Regions from separate parts of the Homo sapiens genome. Here regions 1, 2, 3, 4 and 6 are each linked to region 5. The links are contacts of gene promoters, found by promoter capture Hi-C in blood cells and fetal thymus (Javierre and others, 2016). All regions are on one chromosome and are shown on one strand. The core of a region is centred on a gene start or on the middle of the fragment in contact, and the rest is flanking DNA. Distances in the headings are between cores, read along the strand shown. Region 1 has its middle 88 kb from the start of SEPTIN10. Region 2 holds the start of SOWAHC (sosondowah ankyrin repeat domain family member C). Region 3 overlaps SH3RF3 (SH3 domain containing ring finger 3). Region 4 has its middle 100 kb from the start of SEPTIN10. Region 5 holds the start of CCDC138 (coiled-coil domain containing 138). Region 6 overlaps SEPTIN10 (septin 10).

Region 1 (3,675 bases), core at 929-3,428, 740 kb after region 5:
TCTGCCCACCCCCAGCCCCAGCTCACCCCTGCACCCCATCTCCCTGAACTGCCTGGGTACAGTCTCAGCAAAGCTGGGGAGCATCCCTGACACCCATTGAGGCTAATACCTCAGAGACTGGGACATGGGCCACCAAGCAGCCTGCGACGGTCTCCCTCTCAGATTTTCCTGTTTGCATCTCAGGGCCATGCTTGTCTGCTCTGACTGCCGTGGTTCCTACCGAGCCAGTGTCTGTAAGGAGCTGTGGTGCACAGCCCTGCCCCATGTAGCTGTCTGCATCACAGCCGCCCACCTGCATCCTTCAGAGTCCTGGGCCACCTCCTGCCTTCCCCGAGGGACAGGAGCAGGGGCTGTTCCATGCACACCTGCCTGGTCTCACCTCCCCAGCCTCACTGGGACTCCGTGGGCCTCCGTTCTGCACATCATGCATAAGGTCAGGGCCTAGTGGCGCAAGAGCAGGACACTCCCTCCATTGCACAAATAAAAACTCAGGCTCAGGGAAGCCACACAGCTTGTCCAAAGGCTCTAGCTGGTAGGGAGGACCTGGGGCTCAGAGGGCAGTTCTCTGACCTCCATCCACTGTAAGGACGGCTCAGTGGTCACACGCTGCCCACTGTCACCTTCTCATGACATGGGGATTTGAATGAGATCATGTGTGTGAAAGCCGGAGTGAAGCAGCCATAACACGCTCTGTGAATATCAGCTCCTGCTAGGGATCTTAGGGTGACAGAGTGGGACCCTGTCTCAAAAAAAAAAAAAAAAAAAAAACAAAACAACACTGGGCGCGATGGCTCACGCCTGTAATCCCAGCGCTTTGGGAGGCCGAGGTAGGCAGATTACTTGAGGCTAGGAGTTCGAGACCAGCCTGGCCAACATGGTGAAACCCTGTCTCTACTAAAAATACAGAAATTAGCCAGGCGTGGTGGAGCATGCCTGTAATTCCAGCTGAGGCAGGAGAATCTCTTGAACCTGGGAGGCAGAGGTTGCAGTGAGCTGAGATCGCGCCACTGCACTCCATCCTGGGTGACAGAGAAAGACTCCATCTCAAAAAATATATAAATAAATAAATAAAAATTAAAATTAAAAAATCTAAAAAGGCCTTCCATTTTTAAATTTTTAAGGGTTTCTAAATGAGAAAGTCCTAATTATAGAATATATAGAAAAGAAGGGAAAAGAATCAAGAAGGAAACAAATGGCACATGGAATTCCCAAGCCCTGGGTTCCTCCTCGGCGCAGATCTTCAGTTATGTTCCTTTCAGCAGGGTCAGGATTCATCCGTCCTCTGCATCTTCACTCAGTGCTTCTGCAGCTGCCTGCTGTCCCCACATCACAGACTAGTTCAACACTTTCCCATGGTGGGCATTTAGGCTCCTTACCGTTGTTTTTTTTTTTTTTTTTGTGGTTATGGATGAGGCTTCAGCAAATATCCCTTGACATCATTTTTGTTTTTGTTTTTGTTTTTTGTTTGGTTTTTGAGACAGAGTCTCACTCTGTCACCCAGGCTGGAGTGCAGTGACGCGGTCTTGGCTCACTGCAACCTCTGCCTCCCGGGTTCGAGAGATTCTTCTGCCTCAGCCTCCTGAGTAGCTGGGACTACAGGCATGTGCCACCACGCCCAGCTAATTTTTTTTGAATTTTTACAAGAAATAGAGACAGGTTTTCACCATCTTGGCCAGGCTGGTCTCGAACTCCTGACCTCAAATGATCTGCCCACCTTGGCCTCCCAAAGTGCTGGGATTACAGGCATGAGCCACCATGCCTGAGGGCTGAAAGTGCTAGTTACCTGCACCCTCACCAGCCGGAGCCCCACAGGCCTACACTCCCCGAGCTGACGCCAACCACAAAGTGGTGGGCTGGTGACGTGAACCCCAGGGCACTGCAGCCATGAGGAGGTCCAGCACCCGGCATTCAGGGCAGGATGGAAACATTCCTGGACAACAACTTGGTCACCATCAGGGTAGCTCAGGACAACCTGCTCGGTGCCCATTTGTTGTAAGATGCCAGAGAGGAGGCTCTCAGTGGCCCTCTGGCCACTGTCCTTACTAGCAAAAGCAGCCTCCTCCCTAAATCATTGATGCGTTTCCTACTTGCACTTCCTACCTGCTGGAGGCCTGTCCTGGATGTGGCTCCGAGTTTCCTCCTCTGTTCAGGTTTTGGGATCTCTCTGGTCCTACCATTGTCATTGGAAGCAGATGGAGGGTAATTTTCTTTGTGCTGCTATTGCTAATTTTCCCAGCTCAGAAGCCTCAGCATTAACAGTCTCTGCAGCCCACTGTGGCCCAGTGAGTGGGGAGGTGGTGTCACCCAGGTTCTGGAGCTGCTCGCAATCCCGAGCACCAGAGCCACCACAACCAGTCACCATCAGGGCCCCTGACACACGCCCACAGGTGACCAGGAATCAGGGCACAGTAAGCACCAGACTAAGTTCCTTATGTCTTTTCACAGATGCTATTTCCCTCTTTTGTCTCTCAGGAAAGCTCATCTGCCACCCTCTGAGACCTCAAATTCGAGGCACAGGCTTCCTTTCTTGGGTTTAAGCCCAGGGCTGCCTGCTGTTGCCTGTGGCCCTGGGCAAGGCACCAGCCTCTCTGAGCCACTCTCACCTCCTTTTTATTTTTTATTTTTTTGAGATGGAGTCTCATTCTGTCGCCCAAGCTGGAGTGCAGTGGTCTGATCTCAGCTCGCTGCAACCTCCACCTCTGGGGTTCAAGCAATTCTCGTGCCTCAGCCTTCCAAGTAGTTAGCTGGGACTACAGGCATGTGCCACCATGCCTTATTTATTTTTGTATTTTTAGTAGAGGCAGGGTTTTGCCATGTTAGCCAGGCTGGTGTCGAACTCCTGACCTCAAGTGATCCACCTGCCTTGGTCTCCCAAAGTGCTCGGATTACAGGTGTGAGCCACCACGCCCGGCTCACCTCCTCTTTGAATGACACCAGAAAGCAGACTTTCTGGAGGCCCAAGGGTGGGAGGAAGTGCACGGATGTGTCTGCCATGCACTCTGGCACAGGGGGCTCACCGATGACAGCTGCAATTGATATTCTCCCCGGCTCTTGGGTCCCCAGATGCACCCTCTCTCCACCCTTGCCTGGGACCACCTCAGCCTGGTGAATTCCTATTCAACCCTCTGGTGGGCTGCTTCCTCTCTAGGAGACCCTCTCTGATGGCCTACAAATGTGTTCTCAGAGATGTGTCTGCCTCAGCCAGCACATGTTCGACTCTAGCACGAGGCTCGAGCCTGCCTGCGTGGGGGCTGGGTATGCACAAGGACTTGGTGTAGTGTCTAATGAGGATAGTGCTTGCCATAAAGCTCACACTTGACAAATTGTGCTTGACCAATTAAATGTCTTAATTTAGCTTATAGAAATAATGGATTTTTACAATAGCTACCAGATGACCCTACACACACACACGTGCACAAATACACATACCTACAAATGTTTACATGTGCAACACCTCACACAAACCCACACGAAGCAGATGTGTGTGCCTGAACCCAGCTCAGCCAAAGTGCATCCATCAGCTGCCGCACGCCTTCACTGTGCTGGTCCTGGAGACTAAGCAGAGAGGCCTGGGCCCCAGGCAGCCCATCTCTGGAAAACCAGTTGCTTGCCTAGGAAGCTGACACAGGCAGAACATGGTATGTTAGGACAAGGATGGTGTTTGTGTCCTTCCCC
Region 2 (3,823 bases), core at 651-3,150, 830 kb after region 5:
AAGGGTACAGGGTTCTCACTATACTGTATTATTTCTTACAACTGCATATTAATCTACAATTAACGCAAAATACAGTTTAATTCGAAAATAAGTAAAGTTAGCCTCAAAGCAAATTAAGTACAATTAAAAATAAATCTAACATCAGCTAAATGAAGTGTTCTCTTCTGCTCAAGCTTGTTTGGATACGTAATCTATGAATCAAAGAATTTATAAAACACATTTTCCTCACCAGGACCCCTCAATTTTCCCTCACTCACACATGCACACAAACACAGCAACTGAGACAAGGGGGTCCAGACAGAAAATTTGAGATTTTTAAAAAATACGCGATAGAATGAAAAGAGACCTGGGCTGAATCAGGGAGAAAAATCTTTGTCCAGGTTCTATAAAACAAACCAACGGTGTCACTTTGGACGGATCCTCTAATCTCTCAGCCTGCAATCTGAACTGTTTCTACAATTTAAACTTCTCATGTAGGAGGTTGCTTAGTAGAGTGGTTCTCAAACTTTTTGGTCTCCAGCCTCCAAAGAGCTTTTGTTTACACAGATGAAAACCACCAATGTTTACTATCAAAAATTAAAAGGGAGAATTTGTTTTTAAGAATACACAGGCATCGGGCCTCCAAACGGCGGTGAGATCACTCCATACCATGTAGCCTTTGGAAAACTCGATGTACACGACCTTGGTACTATTAACGAAAATAGTTGTAACCACACTTGGAAAACCGCTGGCTTACTAACAAGCGAGATAAATCTACAAAAGTAACTGGAAAGGTTCAAAACAGTGAACAAACGCGTTCTTTTAGAGTACAAAAGAGTCAAGGCGGGAAAAAAACGGTTTAAAATCCCAATGGAGGAAAACTTGGACGACCACACCATCGGATAAAACGGGAGAGCTTTTGAAAAGCCAGGGGAGCCGGGCTTTCTCCCGGCGGCAGGGAGGCTCGGAAGTGCTCACGGCTGCAAAAGATGACCGCTATTCAATCAGTCCGCACTGCGCCTTCAACTCCGTTATAGCCGTAAGAGACCCACAAACACCGCTGTGGATGTAACTTTTGGCAAAGACCGGGAAGTCGTTCAAGAACTCTCCCACCGTCCCGACGCTGGCGCCGCGCCCCGCGAACCGGGGTCCGGCCGCGCCCAGGCTCCGCAGAGGCTCCTCTCCCGCCCCAGGCGCCCGGCCGCCGCGGAAGCCGGGGAGCACTGGGCGGGCGGGGCCGGAGGGGGCGCGGGTCACAATCCCGGGCCGGACCAGGGGGCCGGTGGGTCGAGGGCGGGAAGTCCCGCGGGGGCCGGGGAGCGCGGGGCTGGGGCCCCGGCGTCGGCGGGACTCACCAGGTGCCGCGCCACCTCGGAGGAGGCCATGGTCGCGGGCAGGGGCACGGTGAAGCGGCTGTATCAGCCCGGCCCCGAGCGGCTGGTCCCGGCGACGGCGGCGGGAAGGCCGGAGGGCAGAAGCAACGGGCGGGGCGCGAGGCTAGGCTGCCTCCGCGACGGGGAAGGGACAGGGGCGGGGCCGAGCTGGAGGCCTCCGGGGGCGGGGTTGGGGCGGACGCCCTGTGGTGCGCGCTGAGCGTTTTGCCTGCGCCAAGCGAGCCCCTCACAGGAGCTACCCTCGACGCCTGAGGACTGAGCGTCAGCGTTGGGGCGGGCTGAAGGAGAGCTGGGACTCCAGGAAGACGGCGCGAGGAATGCAGGCGGGAACTGCGGAGCAGTGATTGCGGCCCTCGCGAGGCCGGAAGTGGGCGGGCCTTGAGGCGAGGCCGCCCTAGGTAGGTGTGGCCGAGACAGCGGGGAGCGGAAGTGGGCGTGGCCTGGTGGCGTGGGCGCGGGGCGGGGGTGCGGGGGGCGTGTCCGCCCGGGCGCGGCCCAGTGAGGCGGTGGCCGAGTCCTCTGGCCTCAGACGCGTAGGCTGGCAGCCCGCTGAGCCCGCCAGACTCCGCCGCCGTCGGGAGCCGGCCGCTGGGAGCCCGTCGCTATGGGACCGCGCTGAGCCGCCCGCTGGCGGGGGAGCAGCGCGGTCGAGGATGGAGGGGCCGGCAGAGTGGGGCCCCGAGGCGGCGCTGGGCCCCGAGGCGGTGCTGCGCTTCCTGGCGGAGCGCGGGGGCCGGGCCCTGCACGCCGAGCTGGTGCAGCACTTCAGGGGCGCCCTAGGCGGCGAACCGGAGCAGCGCGCCCGCGCCCGCGCGCACTTCAAGGAGCTGGTGAACGCCGTGGCCACTGTGCGCGTCGATCCCGCCGACGGCGCCAAGTACGTGCACCTCAAGAAGAGGTTCTGTGAAGGGCCGTCCGAGCCCTCCGGGGACCCGCCGCGAATCCAGGTGACCGCCGAGCCCGAGGCCCCCGACGGCCCTGCCGGGCCCGAGGCGCGCGATCGGCTCCCCGACGCGGCGGCCCCGGAGTCGCTCCCTGGACAGGGCCGCGAGCTGGGCGAGGGAGAGCCCCCCGCCCCCGCGCACTGGCCGCCCCTGAGCGCCGGGGCTCGCAGGAAGAACTCGCGGCGCGACGTGCAGCCCCTACCGCGGACTCCAGCCCCGGGGCCCAGCGAGGACCTGGAGCTCCCGCCACATGGCTGCGAGGAGGCGGACAGGGGCAGCTCCCTTGTGGGGGCTACCGCACAGAGGCCGGCCCGCCAGAACCTCCGTGACCTGGTGATGGGCAGCTCCCCGCAGCTGAAGAGGAGCGTGTGTCCCGGGGGCAGCAGCCCGGGCAGCTCCTCCGGGGGAGGACGCGGCAGAGGCGGGGGCGACTCAGACAGCGCATCGGTGGCCTCGTCGTCCGCGGAGGAGGAGAGCAGCGGCGGAGGCTCCGTGACGCTGGACCCCCTGGAGCACGCGTGGATGCTCTCTGCCTCCGATGGCAAGTGGGACAGCCTGGAGGGCTTGCTCACCTGCGAGCCCGGCCTGCTGGTCAAGCGGGACTTCATTACCGGCTTCACTTGCCTGCACTGGGCCGCCAAGCACGGCAGGCAGGAGCTTCTGGCCATGCTAGTCAACTTCGCCAACAAACACCAGCTGCCGGTGAACATCGACGCCAGGACGAGCGGGGGTTACACCGCCCTGCACTTGGCAGCCATGCACGGCCACGTGGAGGTGGTGAAGCTGCTGGTGGGGGCCTACGACGCCGATGTGGACATCAGGGACTACAGTGGGAAAAAGGCCTCCCAGTACCTGAGTCGGAGCATCGCCGAGGAGATCAAGAACCTGGTGGGAGCCCTGGACGAGGGTGACGGGGAAAGCGCCGCGGGTAGCGGCGGCGGGCGCTGGAGGCTTTCAAAGGTGCTTCCCTCGCATCTCATCACCTACAAACTCTCACACGCCCTAGAAGATGGAGGGGACCATCACCACCATCACCACTCGGCTGAGGGGTGGGTCGGAGGCAAAGCCAAGGATCCAGGGCGCAAAGCCTCGGGCAGCTCTAGTGGACGTATAAAACCCAGACTCAACAAAATCCGATTCAGAACCCAGATCGTCCACACCACACCCTCTTTCAGGGACCCAGAGCAGCCGCTGGAGGGCAGGGGGGAGGAGGGAGTGGGGGAGGAACGACCTGTTAAAGGCCACTCGCCCTTCACATTGAGACCAAAGTCCAATGTATTTGGGTAAAAATTGCTTCTTTTAGAAAATGCAAAGGTTTATTTGTCTTAATAAATTGAATACTAGGTGTTGTAAGGAAGTGAGACCAGAAGGACAAGCTAAATTATGCATTCTTACTTGAGGGATCGGAATGGATGGGGCGGAGTTCTCTTCAGGCTAGCCTTCTGGGAAAAGTGGATGTCTTTTTCAGAGATTCATCATACCTTGACCTGTACCTCTTCTCTGCCC
Region 3 (3,840 bases), core at 517-3,016, 560 kb after region 5:
AGGAACCTGGTGACCTCAAGTTCAACAAGGGGGACATCATCGTCCTGCGGCGCAAGGTGGATGAACAGTGGTACCACGGCGAGCTGCACGGCACACAGGGCTTCCTCCCAGCCAGCTATATCCAGTGCATCCAGCCCTTGCCACACGCCCCGCCCCAGGGAAAAGCACTTTATGATTTCGAGATGAAGGACAAAGACCAAGACAAGGACTGTCTGACCTTCACCAAGGTAAGGTGAGCCCCGGGGTGGGCCCCGCCAGCCCATGCAGCCTCTGTGCCACCCAGGGCTCTTCCCAGCCACAGACCTATAGCCAGACAGTCTTTCTTCAGAGTCTGAATCCTGGCTCCTCCCGGAACCCTGGGCAAATGACCCAGCCTCCCTCCCTGTGCTTCCATGAATGGGGTGATGGTTTTTTTTGGTTGAATGCTATGGAGGGCACCAGCTTGACACACAGCTCCAGCCCAGAGCTACATAGGAGCTTGAGATAATATAAGCCTCCATCAGCACCAGGAGCAGAACCCTCAGTTAACCTGAGTCATGGCTCTAAGCGCTGACCCAGGTGCAGCAGAATGACGCCTTTCCAGGACTCTTGGGGTCCTGTGAGAGGGGCTCATCAGGGGAAACTGCTACAGAGACCCTGGTCAGCTCACAGGGAGATGATAGCTGGGGTCTCACATCTGTGCATCACAGCCCTGTCCTCTAGGGCACCTGAGGCAGGGCCACCCTGGTGCGTAGGGATCCCTGTGAAGCAAACATTTGGGAGCAAACAAAATAGCACTGACAGGTGAAATTGAGTAGGAGGGTTGGGTGAGGTGCAGAAGAGACTGGTTCTGGCTGTCCTGGCAGTTGCTGTTGAATAATCATCTGCACCAAGTGCTCGGCCAATAAGCTCACACTTGGTCTTTACAGCTGTCCCAGGTTCCAGGGGAAGTAGTTGGAACCTCGTTTTCTCCATGTGTAAACCAAAGCTCTGAGAGGCTTTGTAACTTATCCAGGCTGCTTGCTGGGTCCTCTCTCCCTCCTGCTTCCCCTTCCTCCTTTCCATCTTCATCTCCTGTCTCTTGTGTCTCCTCCATCCCCTGCCACTGCTGCACCTGCTCCCCGCCGCCCCCAGATGTAAATGACAGAGCCAGAATCCTAATGCAGATCTCTGATGTTAACACTCAGCATTCTTCCCACCTCCCTACACAGGGAATTCTTCCCTTATGTCGGCCTCACTGTATTTTAGATGCCCAGAAGTTGTTGTTTTCTCTCTCCTCACTCGTTCTGTCTTGCCTGTGTCTCTCTGTGTCAGTATTTCTCTCTCTCTCTCTCTCACACACACACGCACAGAGTTGTAAATAACAGAACTAGAATTCTAACTCGAATCTCTGCTTCTAAAGCCCACATCCTTCCTGCCTCTGAGAGGCCATTGCTCTCTCCCCCATCTGCTGAGTGCAGAGCTCGAGGTGGCACTCTCTGGAGGGCGGTAGGAGAACCATGCACAGTGTTTTTGAGCAAAATTGGCATGTCCTGCGTACAGCTGCTATTTATGTCTTGTTCTATTGTTCAGCCTGACAATGAATAATCTATTTTTCATTCAGGGATTCAACTCCTTCTCCCTTCCTTTTATCAAGGTGTTCTGATGCTAATTCCGATTGTCATCTGGCTGCACAGCTTCCCGGGAAACTGCACTGGTGCCTCCCTCCCTCCCCACTCAGTCGGAGGGCGAGAGCAACAGCTTCCTGGGGCTATTTTTAGGCACACAGAAACCCAACTTGCTTCTCTGCCCAGTGGACTCTTCCCCCTAAGAGAAGACCTGGGACCACTGGTGCCCCAGGTGGTCACTCATGACCAAGAGCAGGGACCTCTGAACTCTCAGGGTCCGGTCAGGGCCTTGCTAAGGAGACAGACCCCATAATGGCTCTAGGCTTCTCCAGGCTTGGCGGGCTCCAGGCTGCAGAGCCGAGGCCCTCCTCCAGGGGCCTCACAGGAGGAGGCTCTCCACTCGGGAGAACCCACTGTGAACGGGCTGTCGCAGGGCCCTGGAGCCTCTGGGTAGGCCTGCTTCTCTGGGCAGAAGTGACTGCCTGCCTTTCCTGTCATCACCATATAACCTGCTGCATTCCACGGGCCTCTGCCCAGGATGTGCAACCCCAGGCTGAAGGCTAGAGCCCACTGGACAAGAGGACAAAGGGCACCTGCCCATTTATTCCACAGAAACATACCGGGCCCTGACTCTGTGTCGGGTACTAGACCTGCTGCTCTTCTGGAGCCCAGAGTCAGGTGCGGGAGACAGGCCAGTGGAGAATGTGCAGAAGACAGGCCAGAGGCTCACGAGCTGCATCGGATCACCAGGGGCAGGCCGGGCATTTAGTGTGGGCTCCTGAGTAGTCAGTGATGGAATTCCATGTTCCATATTTCACAAGAAACAGTGAAATTAGAGCCATCAGGCTTAGACTCATTCTGCGGTTGGCATGTGGGGTGGGGGTAGCCGAGCAGGGGTCCATCTGTTCCCAAGTGGGCAATGTCACCATGGCTGCCCAGGCTCTCTGGAAGGTGACCTCTTGGTTGAATTGAGGTCAGAGGCGCCAGCCACGGGAGGCCCAGCATCTCCTGTTACAGGATCTGTGACGGCTCCCACAGCAGACAAGGGGGAAGTGTCATATCACAGATTCTTTGTTCAAGGACTTTCTTTACTTGAATCCTGTGAGTTAATGTGGAGAATTAGAGGCCTCTGGGTGTGATCCCCAGAGGGACTTGTGCTGTGACACGACCTTCCTGCCATGCTCCTATGCCCACTTTGACCCTCTGACCCCCAAAGGGCGAGGTCGGGCAGAGATTGGCCACCCCTGCTACCTGTTCTGTCCTGTTGCATCTCTCACTCCTCAGTGTCCGCAAATAAAGGCTCCAAGAGACATGGGCAACTCCATGTGACTCTCCGCTCAGTTCCTGTTTTCCCCCACGGTGGGTCCGACCCACCTTACTTCCCCCATGCCTGGCATGCAGCTGAGACGCACACACTGGCTCTGACAACCTCCATGTGAATCAGACCTCCAGGAACCAAATGATTCCAGTGCTGCAGCGTAGGTGCTGGTTCATGCCAGCTTGGTCTCCCCTCTGGGGAATGTTTTTATTCTTTGGATATGTTCCATTCCTGAGTCAGAGAGGAAAGAAGGGTCTCTGAAAGCTACAATGGTATAACCTGCCTTTATACAGCATCACTGTGGCAGACTGATGGAGTTTAAATTAGGTGGATCAAAGCAAGATTTTTACCTTTGGTGTTTGCTTTTGAATAGTCCTGTTAAAGTGGCATTAATTAAAGTCCTTCTAAAATCTAGTTTCTGCTTTATTTCAGAAGAGAATGAATAATCAGTTTTTGTAAAGCAGCTTTAAAAAGTGATATTTTATTACTTCTTAGTAGCCCGACTCCAGAAAGCTGGGCATGTGCAAATAAAAAGACGACAGGCAGGAAGAGCTGTGGGCCCAGCTCTGCCAGCTGGTTTCTGAGGAGCCTCCACACGTGCTGGGCCAGTCACCCGGGAGGGGCTGGCCTTGGCAGGGCCTTGCAGTGAGGGCCCCATGCCAGCTGTGTGACTTAGGGTGACACATAACCTTTCTGGGCCAGGAGCACCTCGCCTTCCCAGTCTCAGGATGCCAGTGTGCACTCTGTGGTGTGCTGAGAACCACATGATATAAATAAATTGTGGAGCCTAGGGCTGGGAGTGCAGGAGAAGAATGTGAACTACTCCATTGTTTGAGCAGCTAACTCTATATTGTCTTACTCAGCTCACCTGCAAGATTCGGCAAGGGTTTATTGAACCTCTTCTCTGTAACTTTCAGTTAATGAAAACATTGTGGT
Region 4 (3,573 bases), core at 159-2,658, 720 kb after region 5:
TCACTAAGAAACGCTGGTGTAGATGAGTTTGCTTCAGGCATAGCTGGGTCCAGGTGCTCACATGACGTTTGTGGGTATTGCTGGGCTCTGCTGCCCTCCACGTGGCTCCTTCCTCAGCAGATTTCCCCATCTTACAGCACAATGAGGACCAGCAGGTTCAGGGTGCCATCTGACACCTTCCCCATCCCTGCAAAAATAGGCCTGCTCCTTCTCCATGGGCCCAGCCAAAACCCTGGCATTGACTCTCACTGGCTCCGTTTGGGCCCGTGCTGCCCTCCCTGACTCAGCCATTTTGGACAGGGGACATGTATATACTGATTGATAGCGCCTGAGGTGTCAGCCCTGCCCAGACTTCATGGATTGAGAGTGGGGGTGAGAAGATACACGTAGAGCTATTGGCAAAAACAAAAGGAGCTCATGACCGGGCAGACAAAAACTGCAGACGCACACTCCCCAGGGCCGCTCCTCCAGGACATTGCCCTGGAACCCCATGGCACTGTGCAAAAGCACGCGTCTTCCGAGGGCCACCATACCATATTTAGGAAAATGAGATATAAAAACTGGATCTAAAAGAAGTCCCAGAGGAAACGTCAACAGACGTGGACATCATTACAAATGTGAAGAAAGAACTCTTTATTTGGAAAAAGTAACGTTCTGTAATGTTCCAAAAAAAAAAAATGGAAGCAGATGAAAGCCTGGAGACAGCCAGGAAGTGTCACATGGGACACCCACTCACCACACCCCTCGATGGCCTGGCTTCACCCACTCACTTATCAGATCAGTGAGCAGTCACAGATGAATGTAAGTGCTCAGACAGGGCACCCCAGATAAGGCATGAAAGGAGAGACACAGCTGCCCACCCCAGCCAGAGTTCACATCTGGAGAGGAAGGCAAGCCGTGTGGGTAGTCATGGACTCGGCAGTCTGTGCCTGAGGAGCAAAGGCGCTACAAGCCCGGGACGGGGGGATGCAGTCCACTCCATGATGGGTCCCAGAGCGCTTCCTCTGGACGTTCTTGGCAAGAATACACAACACCAGCACATGAGTCAAGGAGCTCACAACCAGCTTACCCATTCCTGCCGGGAGAAATGGAAGGAAGTGCCCATCCGTCAGGGTCACACAGGACTTGCCTGGGTCTGGGCATCTTCTCTCCACCCCTTCCCACTCTACTCATTCATTCAACAGCTACTTCTGCTCTGGGCCCAGCACCAGGGTCACGGAGATGAATCCAGGCAAGAGGACCCACCTCATGTATTCAGGCCTTCCTGGAGGTCTGCCTGGTGGGGCCCAGCCGCCTGTCAGATTATGCGGTGTTTGGTGCTATGGAAAGAAGTGTGCAAACCCACGTGCCTGTATCAGTCACTTAGGCTGCCATATCAAAATACCATGCACTGCGTGGCTGAAACAACAGAAATATATTCTCTCAAAGTGCTGGAGGCTGGAAGTCCAAGGTTGAAGTTGCAGCAGGGTTGGTTTCCTCTGAGACCTCTCTCCTCGGCTTGCACACCGCCGTCTCCTCACTCTGTCAAGCAGCTGTGGCGGGTCGTCTTGCCCGGATTCATCTCTGTGCGTCTGTATCCAGTGTTCCTCTTCTTTTTAAAATGAATTTGTGTAAATTTATGGGGTGCAATTTTGTTACATGCCATAGTGGTCAAGTCAGGAGTTTTAGTGTATCCATCACCCGAATAACATACATGACATGTCCCCTTTAAGCAATTTCTCATCCTCCACCCCCTGCACCCTCACCCTTCTCACAAGGACACCAGTCAGGCCAGATTAGGCCCACCAATGGACTCATTTTAATTTAATCTCCAAGCAGAGACACACGCTGAGGCACTGGGGGCTAGGACTTCAACATATGAATTTTCGGGGAACATAATTCAGCCCATGTGCCTGTGCTCATGGAGACCAGGTCATAATGAAGTCAAAAGTTAAATTAATCAAAATAACTAGGCGATAGCTACCGGGCAAATACTATAGGGCAAAGTACTAAGGGATCGCAGGAAACTCTTATCTAGTTGGAGAGGTGAGGGGCATGGAGGGCCACTTAGAGGGTGTCCGGGTCTTATCTGGACCTCCACACTGTAGTCTTGTTTAGAAATTCACAAGGCAGGAAGAGGGGAAAGAATGTTCGGTTGGCGGGAACGGTGTGTGTGCACACCCCAACCCGAGGCTGGGGAGAGCTTGGCAGGATCAAGAAACTGAGGGAGCCCAGAGCAGGTGTGGAGGAGAGGGCTGAGGTGAGAATGGCCAGGGGTAGGTCTCTGAGCCTTCCAGGCCAGAAGCAGGAGGCAGTGTTTCCTGGGCTCTCAAGGGGTGTTTAGATGCAAACTGTGTCGGGAGCTCCCTCTGTTGGTGGCACAGGGAATGGCTCGTATGAATGTGGGAAGCTGGCACAGCAGATGCTGGGCAAAGGGCAAGGCGTCTCTGCCAAGGGGGCGGTGAGGGCATGTGGGGGAGCAGACAGCCCCGAGGGTCCTTTGACAAGTCAGTCCGATGTGGAGGCCGAGGGGAAGCCTTCCACATGTCCTAGAGGGAAACCCCGAGGTAGCTCTTCTCACATTTGTGCAGTGACTACCAGACTGAAGGAACCCCGGTTCCATCCTCACCCTCTGCAGCCCAGAGGGCTGATGGGGTCCAGGGCTTCATTTCTGTTCCTAGCCGGGACCAGGGGCTCTGAGCACCCACAGCCCCTTCCCAACAAAACAGCCACTTGTGTGTGCCATGGGGTGACCCCTCCTCCCTGCCCAGCCTGGGCTGGGGAAGGGCCCCGTCTGACCAGGAGCTGGCCTCCTCCAGCTAAAGCCAGGGTGAGCAGAGTGGGGCCCATGCTGGGTGACTGCAACAAAAGCAAGAGAGGCTTTCCTGCAGGGGAAGCGGCAGAGAGCAAAGGTGGGACGGGTGGCCGGAGCTATGGGGAGTGGGCCCTTCCAGGAGCCCCTGGCCTCCTCGTGGGTGCTGAAGATGGCAAGTGCGTGTTAAGCATGTACTAAGCCCACCCTCTGCGCCCGCCCCATGCTTAGCACTCTACATCCATTGCCTCGTTTTTGTCCTCACATCAGGCTTATGAAGTAGGAATTATGACCATGCAATTTCACAGATGGGGAAACTGAGGCAGAGAGCAGTTAACCAACTCGCCTCAGGAAGGGGCAAAGAGGTGCGGCACCTAGGATTCAAGCACTGGCAGTCTGGCTCCAAAGGCCGCACTCCTAACTCCTCAGCCTGTTCTTGGCCTCGGGAGGCCTGGCTGATGTCAGGGCCATTGACACTTGTCCCTGTCTGACTTGCTGTGACAGTGCTCCCTGAAGCCTGACTCGGGACTGGAGAATGAGGTCCCACAGCCACAACAAGTTCTCAGCTGTCCTCTGTGGCCTCTGATGACAGCACCAGGTGGCCCAGTATACCACATGCCCCCATCTGGTGACAACATACTCTTTGATCAAAAAGAACAAAAAGTTCTCCCGCAATCCAGTGTGCCTCTGGTCAGGCCTACAGGCTGGCAATTGGTGGCCTTAGGGGTGGTGTCCTTGCAGTCAGGCTGGGAGAACCTGCCCACCTGAAGGTGCCTGGACCA
Region 5 (3,437 bases), core at 618-3,117:
TTCTCAAGTTTGATACACACCAAAAACGTATTTGGAAATGGCTTGTATCAAATGTTAGGCAAATTGCTAAAGAAAAGAGGATGTTCTTATTGGCCTACTCAATATGGAACTACAAAGAATCCAGGTAGAACACAAAATTTTGTATATTGCAATTATGAATATTGACTGTCTTCCACCCATCTGTGTTCTTTCGGGTGAAATTACCTCATTTTATTTAGTGAGGAAAGACAGGTTTATTCCCTGTTACATGGGGATTTGGAAATTGGGTATCCTAAAGCAAGTAACTGTTCAACCACCAGTCAAAAGAGGGGAGGGATGTTGTGCGAGTAATGAGTGATGGTATACCATCACCATTCCACTCGGCCACAAAGCCAGATACTTGAAATAAACCTACTCCAAATGTATCAGTTCAGTCTTGAACCATGGATTACATATGTTTACACTAAATATTTCAAATTGGCTTATTTGGAAATCTATGTAATATAAACTGATGTAAAGTGTGTTGTAACTTTTCAGCTGAGACAGTTGATGCCTTCGTCATGATTTTAGAATAAATTCTTAAGTTAATGCAAGTGCTTTTTAAGAGACTTTTTACAGATTTGTATGCTTTCCTAAAGCACTAAAGTTACAAATTAAAAAGCTTTAAAAACTTTGACCAAAAATTTGACAAAATGACATGTAAACTGACTTTTCCCGTATTAGTATTCCAAAGATGCTTAAAAGTGGCTTGTGGCATTTATGAGAAAGTCTTTGTGTCACATTTCAGGAAAGGACTTTGATTTCTCTTTGTTATTTAATCACTGATGTGGTCTAAACCCACGATAATATGTATCTTTCCTTTTAAACTGGATTTTATGTTGTCTCATTAAAATCTGCTTAAAGATAGAATAAAATTCATTATTTGTACATCTTAAGTGGTACTTTATGGCAAAAAGTATGGCCTAAGTAATTTTCAGATAATAACTGCTGAAGTACAGATTTTATAAAACTTGGGCATTTGGGAACTTTAATCCAGAGAATTTAGGAGTTGTTAGTCCAGAGATGCAGCTGACAGTCACAATTTAGAAAGTAAAAGATTACACCACTGTAATTTTATGAATGAGAAAAATGAAGTGGTTGTACAGTTCCCCTCAGTCAGTTTTGTTTAACATAGGTTTTCAGGTTGATGTATACTATGTACTATGGTTAGCACTGTTGTAGGTATTGGCAAAAGCTTTTTTCTTTTCAAAAAAAAAAAGTTTTTTTTCCAGGGTGCTTACATTCTAACTATTCTTTTTAATACCCTGTTATACCCCATATGGAACACAGGGAAAGTGAGGTAATCTGCAATGTCTATGCTCAGCTTTCCCTTTTTTTTTTTTTTTTTAACTTTAAGAGATGGGAGTCTTGCTATGTTACCCAAGATAGATGTAACTCTCAGGCTCAAAGCAATGCTCCCGCCTCAGCCTCCTTAGCAGCCGGGACTACACGCGCGCCACCACTCCCGGCTCAGATATACTCTTGGTTTTTCTTTTATATGGCAGTTAGCAAAGGTCACTTCTGATGGAACGACCGGTCTATGTGGTGAGCGCAACGCACACCAAACTTAACAGGTTAAATGGAGCTGGAGCGGAGCGCTGCAGGCAGGTGCGGGGCCTCGGTGCCCCTCAACCCGTGGCACCCAGGCAGCCGGGGCAGGACTATCGCGGGGAGATGCAATACTACTCAGTTACGAGGTGTGTAGTGCTAGCACGAGAAACTTGGAGGACGCGCTGACAAGCCGGGCTGCAGTCTCCGGGTCGCCCCGCCCCGCCCTTTCCCTGCCGCCGTGCGTGCCTCGGGGGGGCGGGGTCTGGCACGTCGTGACGCACTGCGGCCGCGTAGCGCCGCGGGTTTGATGAACGCGGTTCCCGGGGAGACTGGTACGGTTGCTGTGTGCTATGGAGCCGAGGGTCGTCAAGCCACCGGGGCAGGATTTAGTAGTGGAGAGTCTCAAAAGCCGCTACGGACTCGGGGGCAGCTGCCCCGACGAGGTGAAGCCGCCGCCTGAGGTCCGCGGGTGGGCTCCTGCTGCTGGGGGGCGGCCCGCTCCGTGCCCCGCGCAGCCGGCCTGGGGGCGCGCAGCGGCTCTGGTCCCGGCCCCGGCACTCCCGCCGTGGCTGCGGCTTGGGCCTCGTGGAAGCAGGCGGGAGGGGCGGGCGTTGCGCTGCGGGGGTGCGGGGGTGCCGCTTCACCTATGCCTCTGTGTTCCTGGTATACTGGGCATGGTGTGGTGTTGGAGAAAGTGCTATTCAGCTTTTTTTTGCAGTGATGTGAGTGGAGTTGTGAAAACAATTGAATTGCTTTTTAAAAGCGGCTTATTTCGAAATAATTTCGGACTTACTCAAAAGTTGCTGCAGTATTACCAAGAATTCCCTTGTACCCTCACTTGCATTCACAAATTAATATTTTGCCACATTGGCTTTACCATTCGTTCTCTCCCCTTCCCTCCCTACAAACGCATTTTTTCCCTTTGAACTATTTGAGGGTGATTTGCAGGCATCATGCCCCTTTACCTCTGAATAGAAATAACTTGTGCATTTTTCCTAAGCATAAGGACGTTGTCTTTTAATAACCACAGTAATATTTTCAGGAAATTTAGAATTGGTATAATATTTGGTAATCTAGAGTTCATAAGAAATTTCAGCAATTATCTCGATAAAACCTTTTATAGGAAAATTTTTTCCTAGTGCAGATCCGACCCAAGAACGAGCATTGATTGTATTTGATTGTCCTTTTTGTTGCCTTTAATCTGGAACAGGTTCACAGCCTTTGTTTTCTGTAAGGTTGTTTTTTTTTTGAGAAGTGTAAGAATTATTTATTGGATTGTTTCTCCGTTTGGGTTTATCTTATAGATGCTTCTTCGTTAGATTGATTATGCATTTTTGGCAGGAGCATGAGATGAGTGATGTGTGGCCTGCTGTGGGGAGGAACATGACGTTGGTTTGTCACATTATTGATGATATTAGTTTTGATCACTTGGTTAAGATGGTGTCTACAAGATTTCTCCACTCTAACCTTTGTAATTAATACATAATTTGTGGGGAAATATTTTGAGACAGTAAATTGATTTTTAGTATACAAATTAAATCTTTTCTTTTTTTTTTTAGTATGATTTTTCAAATTTTTATCAGTCTAAGTATAAGAGAAGAACTCTAACCTCCCCAGGTAAGCCGGTATTTTGTATATTTGGGGGTTTCAAAAATTTAATTTGAGGCTGGGCGCGGTGGCTCACGCCTGTAATCCCAGCACTTTGGGAGGCCGAGGCAGGCGAATCACCTGAGGTCAGGAGTTCGAGACCACTCAGGCCAACATAGTGAAATCCCGTCTCTACTAAAGATACAAAAAATTAGCCGAGCATGGTGGCGGGCGCCTGTAATCCCAACTGCTGGGAAGGCTGAGGCAGGAGAATCGGTTGA
Region 6 (3,708 bases), core at 181-2,680, 760 kb after region 5:
TGAACACATAACATGTGCCAGGTGCTGTTCTGGATGCTGGGGAAACAGCAGTGAACAAGAGGGACAAGGTCTCTCCTCTCCAGGAGCTGACATTTAGTTGGAGAAGGAAGACAAAGCATAAGGAAGCAGAAGTAAGAAGCGCTAGGAAGATCCGACAGGGCAATGTGACAAGTGTGGGCAGGGCTGCCAGGGAGGGTGGCTGGGCCTCTTACTTCTTACGGTCCTTGTCCTTCCTCAGGTTGCTGCCTGTTGCCAGAAAGGACTGGCTGTGAAATATCTCGGAGGTAGCTTTCTTTTTAGAGAAAGCAATTATTTCTTCTTCCAAAAGTCTTCTCTTTTCTTCAAGCTTCATTCTCTCTTCTTGGTGAAGTCTCTTAAGGTGCTCAAATTTGGCCTGTAGCTGGAAACAAAAGTGCAATCCCCACTACTGACACAGCGCGGCAGCAGAGGCACGCTCTCCAGCTCAGCAACACAAAGGCGGACCCCATAGCGCAACACAGAATAACCTACACAGTCAAAATCTTTCTGAAGTCTCAGAAGTTCATAGTTCAAGGAAAAGTTTACATATGGAATTCCCTTGGTAACTTTAATTTAAATGAGTTCCCATGCAAAAATCATAGCTTTATGTACAAAACTATTTTTAAAACATTGTGAACTTTTCCTAGAGTTTTTATTTTCTCGGTGTGTATTTTCCCTACAAAACTTCTTAAAGTCTCTCAAGTCCATGCTCAATAAAAATAAGAGATGCAAAGTATAGAAAGAAATTACCAGAAAGGAAAAAAACAACAACACTATTTTCCAAATAAAATATATGCAGTAAACAGTTATTGAAAACTGTACTAGTAAACATCACTGGAAAGCAAGTGTCAATTGTCAACTATGTCAAGAATGTTAAAACTGTATTCTATTTTTCCATAGTCTTTCAATGTCCTGAGATCTAGGCTTAAAAAAATCCTAAATTCAGAGAAAGCTTTACATATAAAAATACTCATCATAGTAGAATTTACACTATAATAGGAAAAACATTGCCTACATAGCCAATAAAGATAAAGAATAAATTAATGCTAAATACATTTGATGCAGCTGTAGGAGAGCAGAATGTGCAGGACTGTTGAGCTGAGGGCAACTAAGAAGCAGCAGATACAGGAAAGCTCTCTGACCTCCCTTTAGGCGCCTAAAGGCAGGATACAGATGTACAAAGAAAAAAGGTATCCAGCCCCCTTCCCCAACCAGGGAGAACAAAGGTTAACCACCAAAGACAACTTCAGACCCTTTTGGGCCTGGAGACTGGTACCAGACAGCTCTACATTAACTAGCTTTACTGACTAGCCTTCATCTGCCAGCTATGTGCCTTCCTCCAAGTTGCTGCCTCTAGAGACTCCAAGTCCTTTTCCTTTGTCTTGTCATTTCTGTAAAAATTAACTGTTCTTTGTTGAAGATGCTATAGAAGGTAGAATGCAGTCGCCTCTTTGAGAACTACTCATTGACTGTATCACCCCTGTATATGTGAAATATACATGCTAATAAACTTGTTTTTTTTTTTTTTTTTTGGTTAATCTGAAAATAAGGGGTCATTCCAATAAGAACCTATAGGGGTTATTCTTCCCGTATACAACTGTTAAATGAGTTTCAAGAGATTTCTCTTAAGTGAAAAAAGCAGAAGAAAAAATTATTTAAAGAATACAATTCAGCAGTTTTTCACCTCCTTGGGGCTGAAAATCATCTTGATAAACCATATAAAGGGAGCAATGTCACCTTAGATGTCAATTTTGGGGCAGGCCTTTTAATTTATTTTGTTCCACAATTTAAGGAATGCCCTATATGGATCATAGAAGGCATATTTCTCAAAGCTATGAAGGGCATAAAACTCTGGAAACTTACAAATAAAAAGGAAGCTTTAAAACAACTGGGATATACCAAAAGAAAACATCTATCTAACGTTTTTACCATGATGGCTGGCACTGAGTAAGCACTCGATAAATATTAGCCATTGTTAATAACAAAAAATAGGAAACTCAGCTTGCTCCAGCTGCCACCCTGGGTAGTTCTTTCTGTGTCCTGTGCTCTGTTACAGGTGCAAAAGAGAAACCCTTAGCACACATGTGCTGGGGTAACTGTGGGAGCAACGTCTCCCTGAGGATTACTTAGGAGCTATGTCTTTTTCATTTTTATACCCCCAGCACAGCACACAATACTGCTCATAAAAGAATTCTAAAAGATGTAGAAGAACTAGTAATGAGAGGAAATACAGATGAAAGTTATGTGAAGTTCTGCATGCAGTTCAGAGAGACAAGGTCCAAGGAGAATGTAGGTGGACCTGGTTTAATTGTGGCTTACCTCAAAAAAAAAAAAAACTAGGGTCTTAAGCCAGCTCCATAGGAATCAGCTGTGTGCTGTGCCCTCTAACAACACAACCACAGTGTCTAGAATCTACATTTTAAAAGATAACCTTATTTTTGGTCCTCTGATCTGGTTAGGTAAATCTGACATTAACATTTTAGTTCTGGGTAGAAACCTGGCATTCATGCAAACAAAGCAGGACTTGGTGTCTAGAAAAAGACGACATAGCTGGGCGTGATGGCTCATTGAGGTTTACAGGCTCATTGGCTCACGGAGGTTTACACGCATGAGCCACAGCGCCTGGCTATGTTATCTTTTTCTAAGACACCAAGTTGTCTAGAAAGGGGGAGACGTTTGGGAGGCCGAGGTGGGTGGATTGCCTGAGCTCAGGAGTTCAAGACCAGCCTGGGCAACACGGGGAAACCCCGTCTCTACTAAAATACAAAAAATTAACCAGGTGTGGCAGTGTGCGCCTGTAGTCCCAGCTACTCGGGAGGCTGAGACAGGAGAATTGCCTGAAGCCGGGAGGCCGAGGTTGCAGTGAGCCGAGATAGCGCCATTGCACTCCAGCTTGGGCCACAGAGTTAGGCTCCATCTCAAAAAAAAAAAAAAAAAAAAAAAAAAAGACATAATATTTGAGGAAATATTTCACTGAAAATCAGAGACTGAGAGAAGAAACCAGAGAGCTAAACTCTGGTCTAATAAAACTGTTATGTTCCAAATATGGAATAGGTTGTCCTGTGAGCCAGTGACCACCTGATAGGAGAAGTATTCCAAGGGAAACAAGGTTAAAACAGATAATCGATTAAGGCCCTCCTAACATAAGATGCTTTTATTCCAGAGGATGCCTTTTCAGAGAAGCATCAGTTCCTTAGTATTTGCTTATTTAAATGGTTCCTGCTTTTAAAAAAGTTACATGTTAGGTATGTGTGTGTGTTTAAAGGGCACACTCCCCAGATGTCATTCAAATCGGTGGCACAAACAAAGAGTGGCAGTTCTCTGCACACGTGTGCATCGGTGATGTGGGAGAGGAGCAGGAGTGGGACAAAGTCTGGAAAGGAAGCAGCAAGGGCAGGTTTCTATCACATGACTAGAGATAGCTCTCTGGTTACTCAAATGGAGGTTGCATACCTCACATGAATATTAAAATATCTTGAAAGGTCACACAGCACTTTATACATCATTCATGAGGTTGACTAAAAAATTCCAGGAAAACTACAAAGAGGGAAACATTAAACAAGGGGGCAGGGAAGTGTGAATGTGACTGTTATTCACACTGGGTGGCATTTCCAGCTCTGGCTATCAACAACTATTCCATACACATGAAGCATGCATTCATGGTTCCATTATTCACTACGACAGGCAGTT

What was found. The method cuts DNA at HindIII sites, captures the fragments that hold promoters and counts their contacts. A CHiCAGO score of 5 or more calls a contact.
Region 1: a contact is called between a fragment that was not itself captured here and the fragment with the promoter of CCDC138 in region 5, in 2 of 17 cell types (total CD4 T cells and non-activated CD4 T cells). The highest score is 6.9, in total CD4 T cells.
Region 2: a contact is called between the fragment with the promoter of SOWAHC here and the fragment with the promoter of CCDC138 in region 5, in 3 of 17 cell types (fetal thymus, total CD4 T cells and naive CD4 T cells). The highest score is 8.0, in fetal thymus.
Region 3: a fragment that was not itself captured here is called in contact with the fragment with the promoter of CCDC138 in region 5 in 1 of 17 cell types (naive CD8 T cells); the score reaches 5.3 in naive CD8 T cells.
Region 4: a contact is called between a fragment that was not itself captured here and the fragment with the promoter of CCDC138 in region 5, in 5 of 17 cell types (total CD4 T cells, naive CD8 T cells, non-activated CD4 T cells and 2 more). The highest score is 13.8, in total CD4 T cells.
Region 6: a contact is called between a fragment that was not itself captured here and the fragment with the promoter of CCDC138 in region 5, in 1 of 17 cell types (activated CD4 T cells). The highest score is 5.6, in activated CD4 T cells.

Annotation. Positions count from the first base shown.
Region 1 is chr2:109,523,699-109,527,373 of GRCh38, forward strand. It overlaps a transcript of RANBP2 not described here. Among named protein-coding and RNA genes, the nearest start is that of SEPTIN10, 88 kb to the right of the region's middle. The HindIII fragment of the contact is 6,274 bases long and covers 1-3,675 here.
Region 2 is chr2:109,612,464-109,616,286 of GRCh38, forward strand. It overlaps SOWAHC (sosondowah ankyrin repeat domain family member C), which reads left to right and starts at 1,901. Exons shown (of 1, transcript NM_023016.4): 1 at 1,901-3,823. The coding sequence starts at 2,027. The coding sequence ends at 3,604. It overlaps SEPTIN10 (septin 10), which reads right to left and starts at 1,503. Exons shown (of 11, transcript NM_144710.5): 1 at 1,335-1,503. The coding sequence starts at 1,364. It also overlaps a transcript of RANBP2 not described here. RefSeq lists an enhancer at 393-1,302 and silencers at 1,155-1,244, 1,275-1,524, 1,785-1,954. The HindIII fragment of the contact is 4,568 bases long and covers 172-3,823 here.
Region 3 is chr2:109,347,723-109,351,562 of GRCh38, forward strand. It overlaps SH3RF3 (SH3 domain containing ring finger 3), which reads left to right. Exons shown (of 10, transcript NM_001099289.3): 2 at 1-227. It also overlaps a transcript of RANBP2 not described here. Among named protein-coding and RNA genes, the nearest start is that of MIR4266, 36 kb to the left of the region's middle. RefSeq lists a silencer at 1-82 and an enhancer at 1,320-1,389. The HindIII fragment of the contact is 5,961 bases long and covers 1-3,840 here.
Region 4 is chr2:109,507,963-109,511,535 of GRCh38, forward strand. It overlaps a transcript of RANBP2 not described here. Among named protein-coding and RNA genes, the nearest start is that of SEPTIN10, 100 kb to the right of the region's middle. The HindIII fragment of the contact is 5,398 bases long and covers 1-3,573 here.
Region 5 is chr2:108,784,904-108,788,340 of GRCh38, forward strand. It overlaps CCDC138 (coiled-coil domain containing 138), which reads left to right and starts at 1,868. Exons shown (of 15, transcript NM_144978.3): 1 at 1,868-2,012; 2 at 3,129-3,186. The coding sequence starts at 1,920. It overlaps RANBP2 (RAN binding protein 2), which reads left to right. Exons shown (of 29, transcript NM_006267.5): 29 at 1-906. RefSeq lists a silencer at 1,677-2,266. The HindIII fragment of the contact is 5,748 bases long and covers 1,212-3,437 here.
Region 6 is chr2:109,545,838-109,549,545 of GRCh38, forward strand. It overlaps SEPTIN10 (septin 10), which reads right to left. Exons shown (of 11, transcript NM_144710.5): 10 at 213-400. It also overlaps a transcript of RANBP2 not described here. Among named protein-coding and RNA genes, the nearest start is that of SEPTIN10, 66 kb to the right of the region's middle. The HindIII fragment of the contact is 925 bases long and covers 969-1,893 here.